4 separate regions of the Homo sapiens genome follow, and regions 1, 2 and 4 are each linked to region 3. The links are contacts of gene promoters, found by promoter capture Hi-C in blood cells and fetal thymus (Javierre and others, 2016). All regions are on one chromosome and are shown on one strand. The core of a region is centred on a gene start or on the middle of the fragment in contact, and the rest is flanking DNA. Distances in the headings are between cores, read along the strand shown.

Region 1 (4,098 bases), core at 732-3,231, 970 kb before region 3:
GCTGATCCTCCTCCCTGTGGAGGAGACAAAAATTTCATCATAGGAATGTGAGCTATAACACGCCTCTTAACCTTTCTTTACTTTGCTGTCTTCACTATTTTACTAGTGAGTATAATTCTACTTATTCTACTAATTTTGAAAAACATATTTTGAAAATTGGATATATACTGCAATTCAAAAATAGAAACTTTGGATTTTTTGGTTTTTAGATTTAATAGTGGCTTTTATATGGAAAAATTACAATGAGAGCTTAGCATTCTATCTAGAGTTGATTTTTTTTTCTATCTCAAGTTATTCCCAAATGAGAATTGGCCACAAAAAGAAATAAATTATGATATGCTAATTATAGACTTTCTGTTTTTAACACATTGTACATAAAATGTTACTATAATTTGCAGCTGCTGTCACCAGTAGTTTGCAGCTAAATGCAAGTGATTAGGAAATATGTATGACAGATGCTTCATTTATAGTGCTCCATTACAAGCAATATTGGACTTCTCTGGTAATAAAATAGAATTCTGTGACTCTAAATCATTTTTTAAAATTACAGACCAATACATGGAGTGTTATATCTGAAATTTTTCCTTATATACATTACCAAATTATTTGTGTTAATATTTTAAGTGTGCTTGCTTTCTTTCTTTTTTTTTTTAAATTAGTCTCTAATTTCTTGTATTTTGCCTAAAGACCCACATCTCTGTAGAAGGATGGCTTACAGATGGCTTTCTCTCTTTTAACATTGACAAATCTTTGCCTTGGAAAGAACCCACAATATAGTGAGTTATAAAAATAGGTACCAAGAAATGAAATCAGAATTAAAGTTAAATTTATGGATATAACACATAAGGTGTTCACTCAGTGAGGTGAGATGTAGAATATCCTCTTAGTCTAATTCTAAAATTCTAATCATAGCTAAGATTAGAATTTGGAAACTCTGGGTCTACATTTAAAATTATATCTAATCATATATTCCTATAGATATCTGTTAAAGTAATAAAGCAAATACAGATAGGTGGTTTGTTTTCCAGCAATTGAGTTTAAAAGGTTAAATCTTATGCCTTTTGAGAAGTAGCATTTTAAAGATGGGAAGTTTAAAAATCCATTATAGAATAAAACTTCTTTACTTCCCATAGTATGTTTATTTTAAACATTTCATGTTCATATATATAATGTGCTATTGAGTAATAAACTGATTTAAAATTTATTTTTCAGATGAACCAGAAACTCGAGATGCATGGTGGGCAGAAATCAGACAAGAAATAAAATCACATGCTAAAGCATTAGGCTGTCATGCTGTAGTGGGCTACAGTGAATCAACTAGCATCTGGTAAATGATAATAACAACTTGATTTTCCAGACACTAATTTAGACTGCCATCTGAAAGGGGAAAAGCTTCATGCAAATAAAAGAAAAGAGAATAGCGAAGTGTTCAGGAGCATGGGCCTTGGAGTACATTAGATTAAGGTTTATATGCCGTCTTTGCCAGTTAGTGACTGTGTAACTTTGAGAAAGTTATTTAACTCTTCTGAGCCTCAATTTGTACATTAAAATGGAGATAATACCACAGATCAATTAATCATTTACATCAGTGATTAAATGAGAATATAATACTGGCACACAGCAAATATTAACTCTAGGCTTCCTTTAGTATGTAACTGTATCAACTTCTTCCACTGGAACCTTTGGAACCCTTGATCTACTGTAAACGAATTGCAATGTGTCTTTAAAGTTTGTCCATAAACTCATTCTGCCTCCTTTTACCTACTGTAATGTAACGTTTCTTGCTAACAAATCATTCTTCCTAATACTGACAAATTAGGAAGGGGCTTTCATACACTTGGTTCTCAATTCCTTTTTCTCCTTCCCTTCATTTGAACAATCTCCTCCTTTAAAGTACATGCCACGCTACTGTTCCATTATCTACTTCCAAAGCATTCGTCTGCCTTTCTTAGTTACTTCGCTGCTCTCTCCTCCAGTTACATATGATTATGTTCATCCTAGCAGCTGGCATTATAGTTTCTTATTCTCAAGTCGTCTGACCCCACTTAACTTTCAACCATATTTTGGACCTCAGTATCACTTGAAACTGTTCCGCCTTAAAATTTTGAAACTATAAAATTTTACTCTCAGATCACAACTTAACGTTTTTCTACCAATATCATTTGCTCTTTTATATCTAGTTTGTTTTGACCCTTACCTTAACCAGTTGTTTTCTCAGCTCCTTACTTAGTTTCTGGCTTTTTTTGTTCTTTTGCCATCCTTGAACCCTACTTTCAGCCCTTCAGAAGTTTACAGTTGATATCATCTAGAAACTGTTTAACCTTCTGTTATCTTATTTTTCTACCATCTATTCTTAGGTAATTCTTACTGTTAGATCCTCTGCTCTTGTGGTGATCCTTATTGTTAGGGAAAAAGAATTAAACTGTAGTAAATGTGGTCATTACAGAGCCATATTATTTAATCTTCTGTGGGCTTTTCTTTTCCTTTGCAGATCATGTGTTATACTCCTAGACTGTTTATTCCCATAGTAGCGGTTCTACTCTTGTTAACTACTAACTTTGTCAAGCTTATCTTGCCTTACTCCCTAGTTGTCTTGCCACATTGATGGTTTTAATGTCATAAACTTTGAGGCCTTAGAAAAATGTTTTTTGTTGTTGTCGTTTTTTTTTTTGTTTTTTGAGATAGAGTTTCACTCTTTCACTCAGGCTGGAGTGCAATGGTGTGATTTTGGCTCACTGCAACCTCCACCTCCCGGGTTCAAGTGATTCTCCCACCTTAGCCTCCTTAGTAGCTGGGATTACAGGTGCCTGCCTTCCTGTCTGGCTAATTTTCATATTTTTAGTAGAGATGGGGTTTCGCCATGTTGGTCAGGCTGATCTCGAACTCCTGACCTCGTGATCTGTCCACCTCGGCCTCCCAAAGTGCTGGGATTACAGGCGTAAGCCACCACACCCGGCCAGAGATATGGTTTTAGAAGGCATAGTTCTTGGTATCACATTTACATTCTACTGGATAATTATGATGTAAAATAAATTTTAAGATTGAGATATAGGATGCTTTGGGATCCTAGAGGGCTGAAAGCTCAAAGTAGAATTGGAAGAAAATGTCAATGAAGTAACTGATGCTTGAGTTGGATTTTGGGGGATGAATATGAATTATATAAATAAAAAGAAGAGGCATAAGGAGAGGTTTCAAAGCTTACAAGATGCATTCAACACTTAAAAGAGTAGCAAAAAAAAGAAGGCCACAGGATGTAGACTCAGGATGGCTGATGATAGGTCACAGATGGAGGAGTCTGCAAATGAGTTCAGTTAATTTACCTAGAAGTTTGAGTTCATCTGACAGATGTCATCTGACAGAGGTCCTTTCTAGACCTCAAAAACATCTGTGTATTTAAATTTTAACTAATCTTTTCTGTTCCAGCCCATGCTACTTTCTGTTACTGGATTAAACTCTCTGAAATGCACTTCTGCTCTTATAACTTCTTGATTCGAAGACATCAGTGGTTTCATGTTATTCCTTCTGACATCCTTAATTCCTACCTACACTTTAAGCCTGGTCTTCCTTTATTTTATTTACAGTTCAAGTGACTGTTCCTCCCTTGTTCTCTTAGGCTTCTGTTTTATTTTATTTCTGGGTTTTATTTATACCTGGTTTTCAGCAGTTCATCCCTAGGTTGCTACTTTTCTCATTTGTTTAGGTGATCTCATTCAATAATTATGTTGATTGTTTAATTTTTTAGCTTTCAAATTGGGTGACATATAATAATTTAAAAATTATTTTGAATATCAGTTTTCTGTTATATGATGATGTAGTTTAAGCTTCATTTAGTATATTTTGTATATTGTTTCAGAAACCTTTATAATGATTTAAATTTAGATTAAGCTATATAAATCACCTATATAGAGATATTTACATAGTTGTGCTTTTAGAATAATTTTAATAAAACTTCATATACATTTAAAGAGTATTTTAATATAGTTTCATTGATTAATGCTAGATTCAGCAATACAATTTATTACTGCTTATATTTTGAAACATTTCATTCTTTCAGCCTTGCCATATTTTAAATGAAGTTATTGTCTTTAATATTAATAC
Region 2 (3,906 bases), core at 141-2,640, 530 kb before region 3:
CAATACATATTTAGGATTTCTGGTAAATTATAATTATCTTAGCTAGCTTTCATTTAAAAAAATACACTTAAACGTTAAGTTATTTTGAATCAAAAATGTCATTCATAAGAATAAGCTAGATTTTAAAAATCCACAGGATATCGTCCTTTTCTAAAATGGTACACCTATTATCTAGGGAATCTTTCTTGCTGCAAGATCCTTTGGGAAACATTAGATAGCTCCCATTTAAAAGTAGTTATGTTTATATTTACTGAATAAACAAGAAATATTATTTGCTGATTAACAAATTCCTAATTCTACTCATCTAAAACTAAATAGTATAATAATTTTCTAGGCGTATGAAGGCCAAATTTCAGATATTTTAAGAGTTAATACTAAAAATTTAAATCTCTTAATTCCTTGCATGTTCTTTGACCCTGAATCAAAATATTATAAAATACTGCTATATTCAGGGAGCACATACCTCAATACCACTTTTCTTTAATAAACTTATCCCAATAGCATCTTTTACATCATAAGATATTATTTCTTTTTGGTCTCCTGATACATAAATGTGGCCATTGGTGAGACATCCATCAATATTGCAAACCAAAAGTTTTATTTCCTTAAGCTTCTCTTTGCCAAAATAGCCATATCTAAAAGAAACCAAAATAGACCTTTGAGTACAAGTGCAGTACTAATCACTCCCTCTCATCTGGCTAAACCAATACATGAAATGTCACCCTCCATTCAATTATTCAAACATTACTCTCCAAATTTACTTCACATATATATTTTAACATATAGTACAGTAAGTAAAAGTAGTGTGGTCTAGCCAGATAATGTTTCTCACTTTATTGAAGCCATGTAAACACATATTTTACATGTCTTCCTCACATGAACAAAGTAATTACAAAGATCCTAAGATGTCTGAAGTATCAGAAATCAGTATCTAGAAATATAATTATTAAGATTTAGTACAAAGGTTATAAAGGTTTATTTGTTTTTACCTTAATACTCTTTGCTCTGCAATAGGCCAATCAATATCCACATCTATATCCACACTATGTTCAGCTCGCATTTCGTAGTATGCCATTTTTCCACCCTAAAGGTAGTATAAATGTCATGAATACTGTTTTTAATATTCATTCACATATATCAAAACTTTATTATAATACAGAACAATGAATTCATTTCTACAGTACTGAGAAAAATGAATAACCCAGTAAAAATCAGTCACATAAAAATGATTTTTAAATTTATTTTTACTTTTTTATTTTTTCGAGTCAGGGTTTCACTCTGCCTCCCAGGCTGGAGTGCAATGGTGCAATCATAGCTCATTATAACCTTGAAATCTTAGGCTCAAGCAATCCTCCCACCTCAGCCTCCTAAGGATCTGGTACTACAGGTATACAGCACCATGTCCGGCTAAATTTTTAAAAAGTTTTTTGTAGATATAAGATCTTGCTATGTTGCCAAGGCTGGTCTTGGAAACCTGGCCTCAAGCTATCCTCTTGAGGCCTCAAGCTGGCCTCTCAAAGTGCTGGGATGACATGCTTCAGCCACCACGCCCAGCTTTTTTTTTTTTTTTTTTTTTTTTTTTAAGGAGAAAGCTCACACAAAAGAAATAACCTTAACATTTTTCAAATTCTATCTAAACAGTTCAAGTTCCCTATTTAAGAAAATTTCTATTTTAATATTGAAAAAAGCAGAAATATTACATCCTCCAGGTTTCTGACCACAAGGGATTTTGTGGAAATCCCTTAATCATATCCTCCTTTTTTTCAAGAAGTCTCTCCTGTCATCATCCAAAAGCAGTATTAAGGTTTTTGGAACTTCTGTTCTAATTTGCAACTAACAGGCAACACAGGGGAGGAAAAATAACTGTAGCATCTGTTGTACAGAGTTTTCTTAGATCTCTGAGCTACTGATGAAAATGACTAATAGTCATCCAAGTCACATGCAGGCAAAGGCAAGGGCAGTCTCTTGATTCTAGGCAAGGGTCAGCAAGAGAAAGGGTCTTTCTTCTGATAGTAATTATTTGAATGACAAGATCAATTACTGGACAATTTCAATTTCATTTTTTTTTTCAGAATTGTCAGTCTCTTCATAAACCTTGTTTTAATGAGAAACATTTTTCTCCACACTTTAGGAATGGGTTAATCATGGTCCTCCTTAGAAAAAAGCTTAAAAATGGTAGTATCTATGTGTGTCAAATCCAATTTTTCTGAACACTTAAATTTAACTAAACAGCTAGTCTATAGTTTGCCTACACATTGACCAGAAGATTTGTAAAAATGTTTTTCTCTCTTTTGCTCAGAATAATAGTCCCATTAGAATTTTTATTACACAATGGAGAGGTTTCTCTCTCTCTCTTTAAAACCGCTATTTCTTGAGTAACATAAGAACCTGAATCCAAATCCTGACAGTACCATTTATTAGCTGTTTTTGCCTTGAGTCAATTACTTCATATTTCAGTGAGGCAGTTTTCCTCCTCTGTAAAACTGGGTAGAAATGTCCACTTCATTCATTCGCTATGCAGATTACATAAGATAACATATGCAAAGTGTTTCACCTACTCCGAAGTACACAGTAAATAATAAATAATAATGATAACTAAAATTAACAAGTTAAGAAATATATGATGCAACCATGTTGCAGGCTCTAAAATGAGAGAGACATTAAATCTGTTATTTGAAAATGAGAGTCAGGACAGATAAAATGATACATATTCAAGCTTACATAGTAAGAGGCAGTTGACTTAAAGTATAATAAAAAAAAAAAAAAATATATATATATATATATATAAAAAGATTCCGGGTTTCCTGACACCCAGGTTGTAACTCTTTTCACCTCTATGAAATTATTTGTCTTTTTAAAGCAATAGAAGTTATTCAACCCTACAGCCACAATATAACTATAACACAAACATGGATTACGTAGTTTTGAGTGGAATAATATGAGTACCAGGACATGTGTAGACACCCAGTACTTGATTCATTTTTTTATCGTTGTAGCAGAATTCCTTGCATATTTACTGAATGGATTCCAAAGATCACTTTGGGGTAAACCTGCAGGATAAATGCCTCAGATAGCAAATGTTGTTGGCTATTACCTTTCCTCTATAGGTTGATACTTTTCTTTATCATAAAGAAATTGTACCATACTTCTTCCCTAGAACTCAAAGTATGCCTACAAAAGCGCTTAAAAGGGTTATGCAAAATGAAGGTACAAACCTGCAAGTAACCCATCTCTATCAAATGTCTTTTAGCAAAATAAAATGAGCCATTTTCATATAATTCTCCATCCCAGTCTTGTCGACGAGGCCGTTTAGCTGGATTTAAATTCAGAGGTTCGGTCACTTCACGAACTAAAAGCAAAAAGTTAGAGTAAGTCCACGTTGCCCTGAATATAGAAAGTGTTAATTTAGTAACTAAAAAAGTTAATAAAAATGAACTCAGAATGCAGAGCATTTCTTTATCTAGATAAAGAACTTTTCTTTTTTTTTTTTTGAGACAGAGTCTCGCTCTGTCACCCAGGCTGGAGTGCAATGGTGCGATCTTGGCTCACTGCAACCTCCGCCTCCTGGGTTCAAGCGATTCTCCTGCCTCAGCCTCCCAAGTAGCTGGGACTACAGGCATGCACCACCACACCTGGCTAATTTTTGTATTTTTAGTGGAGATGGGGTTTCACCATGTTGTCCGGGCTGGTCTCGAACTCCTGACCTCGTGATCCGCCCACCTCGGCCTCCCAAAGTGCTGGAATTACAGGCATGAGGCACTGCACCCGGCCTGATAAAGAACTTTTTTTAGGCTGAATGTGGTGATTCACGCCTGTAATCCCAGCACTGTGGAGGCCAAGGCGGGCGGATCACTTGAGGTCAGGAGTTCGAGAGCAGCCCAGCCAACATAGTGAAACGCCATCTCC
Region 3 (4,503 bases), core at 971-3,470:
AAGCACCTACTATGTGTTCAACAGTGTTTGGTATTTTTCCAAGTAAGTATACTTTTTAATTTTAGCATTTCAATCTTTACAATTTCATCAAATTGTATTGTTATTTGTTAATACAATACGATGGAAAGGTTTATCATGAAAAAGAACAGTCCCCGGTCCCATCCTTAACTGCCCGCATGTTACTCTTTTGATTTTGAACCTTTGATAGTTCTTTCTAGTCAAACAAAAGCATACATTTGAAGTTCCTAGGTAAGTTCTTATTTTAATAATAACAGCGTTTAAGAGGAGGCTGAGTAAAGTTCCTGCACAAACGCGCAGATACATTTCTAGAAGCATTTGCATAGTTCTTCCTATCTCGCCTTACCCCTCTGAGCTGCACCTCAGGTCCTAACTCCCTGGGGACCTCTGCACACCCTGGCAGCCAGAGGGCTGGCTGAACAGCCGCAAGCCAATAAGGCTTGGGGAGCCGCAGCGCCAGCCTGGGCCGCCCTTGCCACCATTGGCGCGGGGCTGGACGCGCGAGCTCCCAGCTCCGGCGCTCGGCATCCAGCTGCTGCTGCTGCCAACCCGGGCTGCCCTCGGGCGGACTGTATCTGAGGGCGCCTCAGAGCCGCGTCTTTCCGGTGAGGAGACGCTTTCTTTCGGCACCAGCGCGGAGCAAGCCCTGCCCGCCCCATCCTATTCCAAAAGCGCAGGACTAGCGCCCTTGCACCCTTGGTCACTCACCCGGCAGTGGCCGGTCGGAGAGGTCCTTTCTCCGGCTCTGGTCGGAGATGAAGCGGCGACCCTCTGCAAAAACGAGACCTGGGGCTCAGCGACAGCCTGGCCCGGGACAACCCGGGCTTAAACCTCAGCTCCTCCCGGCACAGCGCAGTCCCCGGGCGTGGGGAGGGGGCAGGTTGCTCCAGGATAGGGTCGCGCGGGGCTGCCGAGTTTCCAGCGCTCCCAGCGCAACCCCGGGCTGAGCCAGGGGCCCTGGAGCTCTGGAGGAAAGCCCCGCGCCTGACCGGACGCCGCAAGGGCGCTTTGGAGCGGAGGTCGGGTTACTGAGATATTTCCCAGGCAACCCGAGTCCCCATTTGGACCAAGAGAAGCAACCCTCCAGTTTTGGATGGAGAATTTCTAATAAGGATGGAGGATTTCCAATAATCAGGGACTCTTCCCCTCTCCCACCCCTCCCTCACCTACCGGTCTCTTTGATGGCCTCGATGATTTAAGGGAATAAACTCGACATTATTCTCTCTCCATAACTCTCCATCTATCTGTTCCTGACTCCTAGGGGTCTTCCATTATTGTAGGAAGAGCGAAATATTTGGAACTTACGTGCCCCTTTCAGGTAGAGCATAGCTTGAGGAGTCCAGTTCCTTCTCTCCAACAGTCTCTATAGCCCGGGGGAAGGGAAGAGCAGTTAATAAAACATTGCAGCTCAGTCCTCTATTACAGCAAAATAAAGGAAAAAGAAGAGAATAAAACAAGAAGGAAGAAAGAAAGAGCAGAGTGGACACACAGTGCGCATTGTTTTAAAATTTTTTATTTTGCATTTGATTACCTGCGGAGCGCAGCTGGAGTTTCCCAGGAAAACAAACACCAGGAAAAGAGCCAAGGTTGTTGCTGCCAGACTTCTGAGTCCCTATATGAAGCGATCAACCAGAAAGGGTCATTTCTGTGCCAATAGGATCTTCTGCTTCCTTCCTTGACGCCTGGACAATTATAAACCCCCTTACTTCTCGCAATATTCTGTTTTAATACTCAGTTTTCTGGAGGTGTTTCCCTTCTACCTTCTAGTTAATTCACAAAGAGTCCACTTGAAAAAACGTATTTAGAAACATATTATTTGTATTACTTCACCCAAATGAAGAATAAGTAAATACGTGAATTTTTTTCTTAGTAAAATCAAATGATTCTGTTATTCTAAAGGCGTATCGTTCAAATATCCTTTAAACTCTAAAATCCTTATTAAACATGAAATAGGTAAAATGCTATAAAACGTTTTAAAAAATAGCTAAGAAGTCTCAAGTTAATAAAGCCTTTACTTACCTTCATGTTCTGCGTCTTTTCAGAACCCTGAAATAACTATAACTTTATCTGTGAGTTTTCGACTCTTGCTCTGAAATTGGAGCTTTTAAAATCTTGGTGTTAAGGGCACCTCCCCATCTGGAGTAGAGTTTGGGAGTCCACAGGGACATCTTGTCAGTCTTCAAGCAAGATTGAGAATCTGATGACTCCTCCAGGGAGCTTCATTGCAGGAAGTAGAGGAATGATTGATGGGCAGAAATTATTTGTTTAAATACTGATTGCATCACCCAGGAGGCCTTCAGAATGTGTCAGCATCATTGGCCTTGCTTTTCCTACTAGCTGCCCAAAGTAACATGTTATTATTATTATTAATGAAAACAATCAATAGTCCAAGGCAGAATCAAAAGTAAAAGAATAAATCAGAAAACTTTTCTTGGGTAACTAGCCATCAGTCTATCACTGATGGCTAAAGATGTATGAAAAGGTTTGGGAATCTCAATGGAATTTGACATCAGTCATTCACTTAATTATCAATTCATTCTGTTGTTTAGCAAATATTTATTGAGTGCCTATGAGACACACAATCCTTGTATTTCAAGGGACACAGCCATGCACTGAAAAGACATGGTCTCTGCTTTGATCTAAGTTACCTACTAGTTAAGGTACACAGTAAACTGATGAATAGATAAATAAGACACAGTAGTTACCCCTTAATCGTAGGTGTGTGTGGGGTGGAGGAGCATGTTTCAAGACCCACAGTGGATGCCTGAAACCACTGATACGTATATGCCTTATTATACTATTTTTTTTTATCTGTTCACCAAGATGGTTACTAACTGATTAATGGGAGAGTGGTGTTTACATATGGACATGCTGGACAAAAAGATGGTTCATGTCTTGGGTGGGCTGGAGCTGGACAGTGAGAGATTTCAACACCCTACTCAGATTTAAAGCTCACAATTTAAACTTATTAATTCTGGAATTTCCCATTTAATATTTTCAGACTGTAGTTGACCATGGGTAACTGAAACCATGGAAAGTGAAACCGTGGATAAGCAGGGACTACTGTAACTACAGAATGTTTTAAATTGTTAAGTAAAAGTAAGCAAGGTGATGTGATAGGATAAGTGGTGGGCTACTTTAGGGAAGGTTAAAAACAGAGGGTAGTCTTGAAGGATAAGGTGAAGTAATGGGAGAAGCTGGGCAGGAATTAGTATTCCAGGCATTCTCAATAGAAGAAAGAAAAGCAAAATCTGTGGACAGCAAAGAGCATGACTTGCTTGGGGACTAGGAAAGAGGCCAATGGAGGCAGCGTTGTGTGGGTGAACGGGGGAGGTGCTTTGAAATGAGATTGGAGAAGAAGAAATGGGCCAGTTGATGTGGAAATACGATTATAAGCAATAGATGATGATGGCTTACACTGGGATGGTACACACAGGGAAAGAAGAGCTGTAAATGAATTTGGAATACATGTTGTGGAGGTAGAAAATATAGAACTTGTATATAAAAGGGATATGAAAGTGTGAGAAAAATAAATCAAGGATGATTCTTAGGTTTATGGATAAAACTGTGGGTAAATTATGAAGTAATTTACTGAAATTAGAGAAACTTCTTAAGAAGCAAGTTATGAGAGGGAAATTAACACTTGCCATATAGGCATATTAAAATTAAAATGTATATTAAAAATATCCAAGTACAAGTACAAAATAGAAGGTTAGAAATGCAAAACTTGATAGAGGTCAGCCAAGAGGTCACCAGCCTACAGATTTTCTTTTTGGTGGGGGGCAGAAATGATTAGCTTTAAGAATTTTAAGAATTCTAAGAATTTTACAACCAGTAAAGGGATGAGATTAAACACAACACTTAGGGAGTGAATAGGGCTAAAGAAGAGTGGCAGGGACAGAGCTATGAAAACAAACGCATAGAGAATGAGCAGAGGAAGAGCCAGAAAAGGAGGTTGAGGTAGAGTCAGAAAGAAAGGAGAAATTCCAGGGGACCCTGATATCATGGAAGCCAAGTGAAGATCCAGTAGTATTGGGAGGTCAAGCAACATTAGCTCCAAGAAACATCCACTGGATTTGGAATATGATGGTTTTGAGGATAGAAGCAAGATTGGAGTTGGTTGAATAGTGAATATGATATGATAAATTAAAGCCAAGAATAAACAATCTCTTTTACAGATGTCACAAAAGAAGGGAAAGGAAAAAATGAGAATTTTTTTTACTGTTATTATTATTGTTATTGTTATTTTAAAGACAGGGTCTCACTATGTTGTTCAGGCTGGGCTGAAACTCCTGTCCTCAACTGGTCCTCCCATGTCAGCCTCCCAAACCTCTGGGATTATAGGCATGCTTGGCCTGTGAAATCTTTTTTTTTTTTTTAAAAGATAAGATAGAAGATTTGTTATACTTTTTGGGAAACCTTTCATTTCTAGGAAATTCCTAAAATTCCCTGAATTATGAATTATGAAATTATGAATCTTTTTGG
Region 4 (4,192 bases), core at 412-2,911, 950 kb before region 3:
CCTTTTCGGGTAAGCCTACTCTAACGATCCTATTTAAAAATTGTGACTTCATTTTTGCCACTTCCTATGACTTTTCCCTCTTTTATTGTTTTCTATAGCTCTTATCTTTGTGAGTGTGTGTGTGTGTGAGTGTGTGTGTGTGTGTGAGTGTGTGTGTTTTGTTGGTCTTTTGCCTGTTAGTACTGGTAGAATGAAGCTTCATGAGGGCTTTGTTTCTATTGCCTAGAAAAGTTCCTATTGGTGGTAGTCTCTTAGTATTTGTTGAATGATGAAATAAATGGTTTAAAATGTTCTTTGTTAGTAAAAAGAGATTCTTATTGGTGGTAAAAATGTGAAAGAATATAGTTTTTCAGTTACAGTTTCTTTTTTTACAAATTTGCTCCCAGTCATTTCCTTTAATCAGTCTTTTTACCAACTTTGCAATAAGTATCACAATGCTGCCTCCTCTGTGGATGACTGATGGCAAGAGTCTGAATTGAAAGAAAAATGGGTTGGAATTAGAATGAAACTATTTGTTTTTATGAGTCTCTGATAATGAAAGACTTTCACAAAAGGAAAGTATAACATTCACACGTATACATATGTAACAAACCTGCACATTGTGCACATGTACCCTAAAACTTAAAGTATAATTAAAAAAATAAAAAAAGAAAGTATAACATTATTGCTTTTATTATTTTAAACGTCTTATCTAATTTTGGCTGGTCTTCTGGAACAGTGTGTCTGGATTGTTGCGTCACATGTATAGCTTTCATCATATTATTCTAGCATAGTTGTTAATTTGGGAGGAATTTTAAGGTTATGACCTACAGCTGCACTATTCATTATTCACTGTGGTAGCCGCTGGCCACATGTGACTTTTGAGGACTTGTGACTAGTCTGAATTGAAATGTGTAGTAAGTATAAAATATACACTGGATTTTAAAGATTTACTGTGAAAAAGTAGTGTAAAATATGAATATTTTTGTATTGATTTTGTGTCAAAAATTTAATATTTTGGATATACTGAATGAAATAAAATGTTTTATTAAAATGGATTTTATCTGTTTCTTTTTACTTTATTATGTATGTGGCTTGCTTTATATTTCTATTGAACAATACTGACTTAGGGCTTCTTTAAAATGAATGCAAATGTTGATGTGTTAACATATTCATATTTGAAAAATAGACTTTGTAAAAGTTCTCTGTGCACCACTCTACTGACTGCTTATTTTTATAGTACATTATTTTTATTTGGTAGTTATATTTTGATATTTGAACATCTGTTTATAGTATGCCACTTGGGAAAAATGATTTGTAAAGCTTTGTGTTAGGGTTTCATATATTCTTCATTTATTATTTCTAATGATATGAGCTGAACTTTTTTACTTACTTAATAGTGTTTCTCACCTCTGTAAATCCATCCTGACCTCTAACAGGAAGAATGGACTCTTCCTCCATTGTGTACTTGTTGTACCTGTATGTACTTGTATAGAAACTGTTACATATTATTGTACTTAGTTTTTATATATCTGTCTTCCTTTACTATAATGTAAGCCCTTTGGAGACAGGGATGTGTTTAAATAAGACTATGAATTAAGTTACTTCATCCATTCAGTACTTATTGAGCTGCTACTATGTGTCATACAGTTTACATTTGGAAGGAGGGAGTAAATCTATTATGATTTTAAAAATTTTAACATATATGAATTTCATGTGTTGAGGATGACTGTATTTTCACAACAGTACTCATCAGTTTATGCATCTTCTAATATGTCTTTCCTTATTGTAGATACTGACTACATTATAGTCTTTTAGCATAATCTCTCAGCATTTTTTTTGACAGAGTCAGTGTACAAGGTTGATTACCAGGCCACTATACACATTACAGTGTTGTGTTATGTCCACCCTGAATATGTAGATCAGAGTGTTCCTTCTCTTAGGATGATAGCCCTCACTGAAATAAATGCTGCTGTTTAAATTTTTTGTCAATACATTAAAAAATGTTTCTAATACAAAGGTGTAGTACCACTTAAGCTTTATGGAGATAATCAAAGGTATCAAAATAAGATGCACATCTCTCAGAATAACAGTACTAGTGATGAAATTTCAGTATGAATCTAGAACATATTAAATACCAGACAGTTATATTTGTTAAGTCTGTGGCATTGTGAACAAAGGCATAACAGAATTTAAAACTATTGTAAAATTATAAAAAGTAGTGTGGTATCTAGTGGGAATAACGTTGCACTGTGTGTCAAAAGACTGACCTAGACTGGCTCTACACTTGCTAGTTTTCCAAATTTAGGCAGACTACTAATTTACTTCTGAATTACAGCTCTTTTCCATTTTGTAGTTATTATAATGTTAACTTTATAGAGGGCAGATTAATTTGGAGTACAAATAAGATAAATTGATGTGAAAGTGCTCCATAGATCATTACATTATGAAATTGTGCAGTGGTAGTCTTTTATCTAAGGTGCATACTACCAATGAACATTTAAAACTATATATTTTTGAAAAATTTTATGTACAATTTCCTTGTTTATTAAAAAGACAATTCTGTTGCATCAGCAATAGGCTATGGCTTTTGCTTTTGCGTTCACGTATTCATATTCTTCCAGCATTCCTTGTGGCCGACAGACACTTAGAACCCCTAGTGATCTTTGGCTATGTAACAGCAAAAAGCTCACTAAGCCATACAGTATTGCACCATACACTGACCTTAAAAAGATCATTATTGTAAGTACCAATGTTTATTTAGCTTAATAAATTGAATAGCAAATATGTGCATAGTATAAGTATATATGTATTCATACTCATACATTGATCATATTTCACATTTTGCTATATGGAGCTTTGAAAGTGGATAAGAAAATATATAAAAGATTAGAATTCTTTCTAGGAACATAAGTCTTTAAATTTTTAAGGCCTATTAGGACTTTTATAATGCTGAATAGAAAATATGCACACACAGCAGTACTGGATTTCAGAGCTGTAAGGACTGCCAATTCCATACACATTGTAGTGTCCTGTGTGTACACTAGATGTCAGTTTTATCTTGTTATGTCTGTGACAGTTATATATATTTTTCTGATTCGTGTATCATTAAGGCTGCCATATCTGCTATAAAAGTTTAGTTTTAAAGGTTATACTTAAGTACGGACTTCACTGAGTATATTTTACAGGCTTTTTCTCCACAGGTAGGTGTCTACTAATATAAAGATGTAAAATTTAAACTGGAAAAGACAATCTCATATGATATAAAACAATTATATTTCTTTTAGGAGATATCTGAAGAGATTATAGGATCACCCATCCCAGAACCTAGGCAACGCTCAAGACTTCTAAGATCTCAATCAGAAAGCTCGGATGAAGTTACAGAATTAGACCTTTCACATGGGAAAAAAGATGCTTTTGTTTTGGAGGTAATGTGGCATTGGACTAATTTCTTAAAGGTTTTGGAAGCTAAGATACACATTTTTTCACGTGCTAAATTAATATGATACTTTTATATCATTACAACTGTTATAAATATTTAAAAAGTTATTATATAAAAATACAACAAACTTGAAAATAACAGAACTTGGTAACATATGTTTGTTCAATACCAGGTCACTGATACAATAATGCAGATGGTTCTGAAAAAGTTAATGTATGGGTTGAAATAATGATAGAATAGTATTAAACCTTTGAAGTTATTTTTGTAAACTTGAATGAATTTAAATGAAGTGCCATTCTTTAACTTACTATAATTATTACCTTTTTTGTATATTACTGTAGTTATAACATTTTTTAGTATAATCACTGTGAATTCTGAGTGTAGTATTTTCTTACTGAATTCAAAAGGTATAATTGATCCATCTTTATAAAAAGATACTAAGAACACTTTAGTAACTTTCCCAGAGAGTAAATGTCACATGAAAAGTTTATGGAGACTCCTTCCTCACAGATCTGCTTCCTCTGCACTCCCCTGTAGAATGGTTAGCTCCCAAAGAGATAGATTTTTCTTTTTCATATTGAAGGAAAGGAAAATAAATGATTAAGATGTAAGTTGAGAGAGAGAAAAATCAGATGCTTTGATCTTGGTGTAGCAGGAAGCTGGTGGTAGAATTGTGTTGGGATGGGATTGGAGGTTTAAAGAGTCAGGAACGGTGCCAGTGGCTGTAACAAGGATCTATGAGAGACGCACAGGCCTAACCAAGGTGAGAGT

The links. The method cuts DNA at HindIII sites, captures the fragments that hold promoters and counts their contacts. A CHiCAGO score of 5 or more calls a contact.
Region 1: a contact is called between a fragment that was not itself captured here and the fragment with the promoter of SPX in region 3, in 1 of 17 cell types (total B cells). The highest score is 6.1, in total B cells.
Region 2: a contact is called between a fragment that was not itself captured here and the fragment with the promoter of SPX in region 3, in 1 of 17 cell types (naive CD4 T cells). The highest score is 5.0, in naive CD4 T cells.
Region 4: a contact is called between a fragment that was not itself captured here and the fragment with the promoter of SPX in region 3, in 1 of 17 cell types (naive B cells). The highest score is 5.0, in naive B cells.

The regions. Positions count from the first base shown.
Region 1 is chr12:22,490,452-22,494,549 of GRCh38, reverse strand. It overlaps C2CD5 (C2 calcium dependent domain containing 5), which reads left to right. Exons shown (of 27, transcript NM_001286176.2): 11 at 1,213-1,327. Among named protein-coding and RNA genes, the nearest start is that of C2CD5, 52 kb to the left of the region's middle. The HindIII fragment of the contact is 1,174 bases long and covers 1,395-2,568 here.
Region 2 is chr12:22,058,010-22,061,915 of GRCh38, reverse strand. CMAS (cytidine monophosphate N-acetylneuraminic acid synthetase) reads right to left here. Exons shown (of 8, transcript NM_018686.6): 4 at 3,216-3,349; 5 at 990-1,084; 6 at 464-635. Among named protein-coding and RNA genes, the nearest start is that of CMAS, 14 kb to the right of the region's middle. The HindIII fragment of the contact is 1,555 bases long and covers 613-2,167 here.
Region 3 is chr12:21,524,013-21,528,515 of GRCh38, reverse strand. SPX (spexin hormone) reads right to left here and starts at 2,220. Exons shown (of 6, transcript NM_030572.4): 1 at 2,038-2,220; 2 at 1,550-1,630; 3 at 1,324-1,381; 4 at 727-789. The coding sequence starts at 2,043. The HindIII fragment of the contact is 15,623 bases long and covers 1-4,503 here.
Region 4 is chr12:22,473,966-22,478,157 of GRCh38, reverse strand. It overlaps C2CD5 (C2 calcium dependent domain containing 5), which reads left to right. Exons shown (of 27, transcript NM_001286176.2): 16 at 3,267-3,407. Among named protein-coding and RNA genes, the nearest start is that of C2CD5, 68 kb to the left of the region's middle. The HindIII fragment of the contact is 714 bases long and covers 1,305-2,018 here.